2 separate regions of the Homo sapiens genome follow, and region 1 is linked to region 2. The links are contacts of gene promoters, found by promoter capture Hi-C in human tissues and cell types (Jung and others, 2019). All regions are on one chromosome and are shown on one strand. The core of a region is centred on a gene start or on the middle of the fragment in contact, and the rest is flanking DNA. Distances in the headings are between cores, read along the strand shown. Region 1 overlaps ZMAT4 (zinc finger matrin-type 4). Region 2 holds the start of ZMAT4 (zinc finger matrin-type 4).

Region 1 (3,739 bases), core at 60-2,559, 230 kb after region 2:
GTTTGGGAGACTTGAATATTTTTTGTGTAGAAAACTTGCTTTGAACTGAAGTATAGAATAAGCACAGCCAACTCTGAGTTTTCTGGGAATGGATTATTTGCAACACGCATTATGTACCTTTAACAAAGGACTTTCCCCCACATTCATGACTTCATCTCAGCTGGAGTGAACATAGCCATGCAAAGAACTGTAGTCACTATTCATGGGGGCCTGGGTGAGAGAGGCAAAGTTCTAGAAAGAGAAGACATACTGCTGGAGAGGCCCCTAGAATGTACAATAGCTCCCCCTGTAATGCAGCTGCTGCCTCTCTGTGTGGAAATGGGGATGGATTGCAAGAGGATGCAGGCAGCTTATCTAGGACTTCAAATCATGAAAGTAGTATGTGCGACAGAGAAACAGATTTGCCACAAGATAAGCAGAACCTGGTGGTTGAGAGGCTTTACATTTTTTGTTTTTTTTGTGTGTGTGTTTTTTTGTTGTTGTTTGTTTTTTTGAGACAGTCTTGCTCTGTCACCCAGCCTGGAGTGCAGTGGCGCAATCTCAGCTCACTGCAACCTCCACCTCTCAGGTTCAAGTGATTCTCCTGCCTCAGACTCCTGAGTAGTTGGAATTACAGGTGCCCACCACCACGCCTGGCTAGGGCTTTACGTTTTGAATTATTTCTGCTGTGAGCTTTCAAGTGACAGAGGATTAACTGCTTCATATTTTCTTCCACTTAACCTTGGCATGGCCTTTGTCCACATCTCAGGCAGTGGACATCTTAGTCATGTCAATGTGGTGACACTTTTCTACCTTCAGGTACCCAAGTTACCTGTGCATGGGCACTCAGGCTGTGGGTCTGCTCCAAGACCAATCAAAGGAAAGACATTCTAGGTAAATATCAATAGCAATAATTATTTTAAAAAAGATTTATAAGGTAACCAATGCAACTATTGCTGTGCAATCATTACCTCCAAACTTAGTGGCTTACAACGACAAATGACACTTCTCATCTCTCACAGTTTCCATGAGGGGATTTGGGAGTGGCTTGGCTCAGTGATTCTGCCTTGAGGTTCTTCATAATATTGTAACAGAGACATCAACCAGGGCTGCTGTCATCTGAAAGCTTGAACGAGGCTGGAGGGTCTACTCCTAAAGCCAGCTCATTGCATTCTGGGTAATAGGTTAGTGGTTGCCAGGCATTGCAGAGGGCAGGACAGATGGATGATAATGGGGTATTGGAAGCATAATGGAAATTATACTTGGATCATGGTGGTGGCAACCTGGTTTTATGGTTTTGTCAAAATCTGAATAGCTATGCACCAACAAGAGAGCAGTGTGTACATTTAAAAAGCTAAGTAGAAGAAGAGAGAAAAGGCAGCTCACTCACACACCTGGCTTATTGGTGAGAGGCCTTTGTCTCCTTGTGGGCCTCTCCTTGGGGTTTTGAATGTACTGGTGTTGTGTTCGCTGGCTTCCTACAGAGTGAGTGACCCAAGGCAGCATCTGGAGGAAGCTCCCCTTTCTATTACACTTGAAGGTCTCTGAGCACCACTTCCACACATTCTATTTGTTAGAACTTCTTCATATCACCCACAGTACCCAAAACAAGGTGTTGCTGATAGAAGTCCTGGAGGATCGGTCTCCCTCCTGTCACCCAGTGGAAAAACTACACTCCACATTCTCCACTGTCTGTGGTACAGTCAGAATTATGGGTCTCAAACCGATGATTCAACATTTTCAAGTACTGAATACTTGACAGAAACTAGTGTCAAATAATATGTACTTTGATTACATTTAATCAATTAAAATAAAAGCATTAGTTCTCTTTATACTAATATTTTCAATCTCTGAAAGCTGTATGTATTGTATCTAGTTAAGAATCAGCAGAAAATAGGACCCTTAAACACATACGATAATTATAGAACACAATTCTAAATTAAATGTTAGTGAAGAGGTGCCAGAGAAAATACTCAGCTTAGATTACACCTGGTTATTTTTGCATTATTATTTTTAATGTGTTTTGACACCTCAGCTGTTCTATGTAGACTCACTCTGATCTTCAGAGCCCACATTTTGGATTAGATAATTAAACTGCTTAAATGGCTCATGTTCCTGTCATATTATTGGGGTAGGAATGAAGTGGGAAAATAGTGTGATATAGAAGAGATAATTTTGGTTCTCTTATTTTGTCATTCATTCATTCATTCACTTATTCAAACACACTAAGTTCCTGTTATGTGAGAGGCCCTGTGCTTGAATTTATAAGGGAATGTGACTCATCCTCTAATCTCAAAGGGTTTGAAGTCTGAGGAAGGGAGGGGGAGAAGATAATATCTTTATTGAAATAAACGTAACACAAAATGTGAAAAAAAAGCTTGGGAGCCCTCCAACCACAATGCTTTGGGAATGGAGAACACAGAAAAAAACGACTTCCAACTTGAAGTTAGCATTGAGATATGTAGAAGTTGGTGGCTAGTTTCCCTAGAGCGGAGAGATCAGCATGACTACAGGCCAGATGGGGAAGGGTGATCATAACTAGCATTCAGGTCAGATGGGACCTTGGGTTAGATGAAGGTAAGAGAAGGCTGAGAAGACAGATTGGAACCAAATTGTAAATGGCCTTGCATGTCAGGCAAAGCGGAACTGTATTTGGTGGCCACTGATGTGTTTTTGAGTAGAGAGATGAATACTTGTCAGTAGAGGATGTGATCATTGGAATGAGGAGATTCTGAAAGCCAGGAGACCAAATCGAATTCATGCAGAGGCCTGCTGAGGGCCTGGAGGAGACCAAGGCAGAGGTCAAGGGGGAAAAGTGGAACGAGTGAAAGATATATTTCTTGGTGCACTATTCAGAGTGCTCTCCCAGTTAGCAAAATGAAAATGAGCCTGTACATTAGAATTCTCAAAGACACCTTGACAAGGTCAACGTTTCCTATTGGGAACTCCAATAGGAAAAACAGAAATGTAATGAGTAACATGAGTAATAATTTAGATTTCTGTTCAGTCTCAAATCCAACAAGAAATGTAATTGATGAACATTCTCAGTCGTGTGTTTACATACTATAGGGGCATTCTTCCTTCAGCTGGGATGGGTTTTGCCTGTTATTGTTATTAATGAAGCTAATAAATGGAACACTCTCTAAAGACGCTTGGTTAAGTCTTCCATCATCACTGACTAGGTTCCAAAAGAGATGAGAGCTTGGCTTCTAAAATGAAATCATTTTTGCACTACTGCATCCATTTATGCACTGTGGGCAAACTCAAGCAGGAAATTAGAAACCTATCCGGATTTTAAACATTAGAGTCAGCTACTACATTGGAAACAGCCCTATATTTGAAATATGGAAATACTGTTCTCTGTTATTAGATGTTGACCAAGAAAAGGGCAAAAGCAACAACAAAACACCCCTACTCATATCCAAAGTACTTACCTGGGCCGGGTGTGGTGGCTTATGCTTAGAATCCCAGCAATTTGGGAGGCCAAGGTGGGAGGATTGCTTGAGCACGGGAATTCGAGAGCAACCTGGGCAACATAGTAAAGCCCCATCTCTATAAAAAATAAAAAAAAAAATTAGCCAAGCATGGTGGTGCACACCTGTGGTCCCAGCTACACAGGAGGTTGAACTGGGAGAATCACTTGAGCCTGTGAGGCAGAGATTACAGTGAGTCATGACTGCACCACTGCACTCCAGCCTGGGTGACAGAGTGAGACTCTGTCTCAAAACAAACAAACAAACAAAAAAATTAACCTGTTCTT
Region 2 (3,501 bases), core at 343-2,842:
GTCAAATACCAGATCCTATTCATTCTATCTAACTCTATTTTTGTACCTAGTAACCATTCCACCCCCGCCCCTTCCTAGCCTCTGGTAACCATCATTCTATTCTCTCTGTCCATGAGTTCAATTGTTTTAATTTTTAGCTCTCACAAATGAATGAAAACATGTGAAGTTTGTCTTTCCATGCCTGTTTTATTTCATTTAACAGAATGTCCTCCAGTTCCATCCATGGTGTTGTAAATGACAGGATCTCATTCCTTTTTATGGCTGAATAGTACTCCACTACGCATATGTACCACATTTTCTTCATCTAATTTATCTGTTGATGGACACTTACATTGCTTCCAGATCTTGTCTATTGTGAACAGAGCTGCAATAAACATGGCAGTGCAGGAATCTCTTCAAGATACTGATTTCTTTTTTGGGGGTATATACCTAGCAGTGGGATTGCTGGATCAGATGGTAGCTCTATATTTAGTTTTCTGACAAACCCCAATACTGTTCTCCATAGTGGCTGCATTAATTCACATTCTCACCAGCAATGTAGGAGGGTTCATTCTCTTTTCTTCACATCCTTGCCAGCATTTGTTATTGCCTGTCTTTTGGATAAAAGCCATTTTAACTAGGGTGAGACTTTATGATTTCTTGGTGAACAAGGAAAAGTGTTTAAGCTGTCCCCACCCTTTGATGGGTATGTTCTCTCTTCACGTGCGTAGGTTGTTGATGAAAGTCTAAGCGATTAATTTAAGCCATGTCAGAATAAACCAAAGTGAGGGTCCCAGCAGAATCATTCACTCTAGAATGCTCGGCTTTCTGGACCTCCCAGTGAGAACAGTGAGAAACTCCAGAGTTTTATGGATTTTAAGAATAGCTCTTCTGAGACTCTTTGGACAGGGTGCAAAGGAAAATTGTCTCCTCAGGTTGGGGGATGAGGGGGACTGTGAGATAAAGTACTGATAGATAAACTCCAGGTATGCACCTACTATGCTCCCCAAGCAATCTGCCATGTCCTTCACATGTCCTCCAGGGTGGCCCTGTGAAAAGCATTACTCCATCCCTTCAGCCCTCAACCTTGCTCGGCTTTCTAGAGTCTGTCTCATGCCGGCAGACACCCCATAGTTATTATTCTCTCTGCCCTCAGCAACATTTACCAGTTAGGGGGAAAATAAAGCCAGAAAATTGTTGCTATGGGCTCTGTTTTGTGGAAGTTAAAATGCTAGAGCAAGAATCTGATTGCTTGATAGCTCCATCTCTCTCTCTCTCTCCCTCCTACCCTCCTACCCCCCCACAGTTTCTCCTTCTTTTCCTCTCCCCTCCACCTCCTTCCCCCACCCCGCTCCCCCACATTTTCCTACTCCTCTCCCCTCTCTCCACTGGCCTCCCGGTCCTGCCCCCACATTGGGCTGGAGGAGAGCCTTACAGGTTGTCAATGAAACATGGAATTATTTCCTTTGATGGCTTAGATAATAGTAGGAGCCAAAGCAATGAGTGAGGTCGGCTGAAACCAATGCAGTCCTGCCCGGGACTGGAGAGCCAATCGCAAGAGCAGAGGGCGGGGCGTCGGAGCCAGCAGATAATTGCTAAGTGCATCGCTAGCACAGTTGGTCCGAGCTGCCGAAAGGTCTGGTCGCAGAGACAGGAACGTGTAATCCTCAGCGTGCTCCAGCCCACAGCTTCGCTCTACTGCTCGGCAGGGCAGCTGGCCTCTGGGCACCGGCGGCCCCTCTGCCTCGCGGAAAAGGTACCTCTGCCTGCGTCCCGGGGGTGCAGCGCCTGCGTCTCCATTGCCAGTGGCTTTGCAGTTTAGCCTAGGTGGAGGGATTGCAGAAAGAAAAGTTTCTGGGAGGGAATGTGATAAAGGTGGGAAATCACTGTCTTTTGTTGGGAGGAAAACAAGCGGACAATTTGGGAAACTTCTGCGCTGGCAAGAAATGGGCTTGTTTACTACTCCTAATTAGCTGCGCTCAGGTCTGTCTAAATAGGTCTGGTCTCAGGCTAGGGTGTCTGCAGGGCTGGGGTGGAGATTCGGGTGTGCTGGGTGAAAGAAGTTGGATCCCAGGGTGTGCTGTTTCCTGGTGCACCCATCATGGATAGGCTGGTTCCGAGAGAAACGTGATTGGTTGTTTGTGTTTTCCGCTATAGGGTCTGTCCCCTTCGTATTACCTTGATCTGCCTTCCCCAAACTATTGTGACCTTCAACTGGAGTCCTTCCTCAAACTTCTGCCTCCTTCCTGCCTGTCTCAGTTCATTTTATTTGGTGGAAGGAGACATTCCCCGGGGTGGGTGGGTGAGGATGGTCTATTCTGTTTGACCTGGTGGGCACCTACGTGACAACTTGGTGACACGCCAGCAAAACAGTTCTCAGAGGAGAGGAAATCACATAATTAATTAGCTCCCGAAAACTCTGGAAGACTTTCCAGGCTTGGGGTATCCTGAAAAAAAAAAAAAAAGAAAAAGCCAAAAAACGGGATAGAGAGTTCGGTTTGGTACCATGTGAAGCTTACACCCTTGTCCCCAGAAGGGGTGCCTGGCCCGGAGCATCCCCGCAGCTCTGGGAGGTGGAGGCTGGTGGAGGGGGTGGCTCCGTGTAGGTGCGCAGGTTGTTTTGGTGCACAGGTGCATTTGTGGCAGAGGTGGTGCTGAAGTCACCATCCACACTGCTTCTGCTAACTGCTCTTGAAGTAAAACAGCTCACCCCGGCAGGCAGCTGGTTCAGCCCAGAAGCACCCTTGAGCATTCTAAATCGCGAGACCTCAGGGGCCTCTCTTGCTCTGAGACCCTTGGGAAACTCCTTTCTCCCCCTGCCTCCTCCGCCTTTGGCTTCTGCTAAAGGGAGATATTAGGTAGGTGAGTCACTAGGAAGCAGGGACCCATGGGGAAGCAGGCGATGTGCTTGGTCTCGAACTTTCTTCCTCTTCTGCGAAGGCAGCTTCTGCTTGTGTGCCCACCGCACTTCACCAGTTGCGCTGCCTACCTGCGGGATACTCTGAAGCTGATAGTCTGGGGGTGATCTTCCAAGTCCTAGGGGCATTGAAGAGTTTAGATGATTTTCATCCCTCTGATTTCCGTTAAACCCGCAGCTGGGGAGTTCGATTCCCAGTCCTGACAAGACTGCATGTTCTGGGAGGGATTCTCCAGTGACACCTCTTCCTCAGGGCACCCTTCCACGGAGATGCAGATGACAGTCTTGATTCTCCAGCTCCACAAATCCCTTCCACTTTTTAATTCTTATTTTCTTTAACCACCACAACAGATTCTCCTCCACCTCCTGTAGGCAGCTATTTTGGGTGGGAACTGTGATTATTGAAACTCTATTCACAATGGTTAAAAAAATGCCTGCCCACTTTTTTTTTGGGGGGGGTGTCAAAATACCATCAGCGTTCTCTTCTGTACTTCCTATCTGACAGTAAACAAAACAATTTTGCAGCCCTGCCAATTATAATCTTTTTGTGTTTGGGGGGCCTGGAGCGGAAGCTGAACTTTTCCCAGCCGGTGGGCATGGTTAGT

The links. Contacts are between HindIII fragments. The study calls those that stand out against the background at their distance.
Region 1: a contact is called between a fragment that was not itself captured here and the fragment with the promoter of ZMAT4 in region 2, in 2 of the 25 tissues and cell types used here (dorsolateral prefrontal cortex and hippocampus).

What each region holds. Positions count from the first base shown.
Region 1 is chr8:40,661,958-40,665,696 of GRCh38, reverse strand. All of the region lies in intron 5 of ZMAT4 (zinc finger matrin-type 4), which reads left to right. Among named protein-coding and RNA genes, the nearest start is that of ZMAT4, 230 kb to the left of the region's middle. The HindIII fragment of the contact is 5,848 bases long and covers 1-3,739 here.
Region 2 is chr8:40,895,917-40,899,417 of GRCh38, reverse strand. It overlaps ZMAT4 (zinc finger matrin-type 4), which reads left to right and starts at 1,592. Exons shown (of 7, transcript NM_024645.3): 1 at 1,592-1,735. The HindIII fragment of the contact is 9,161 bases long and covers 1-3,501 here.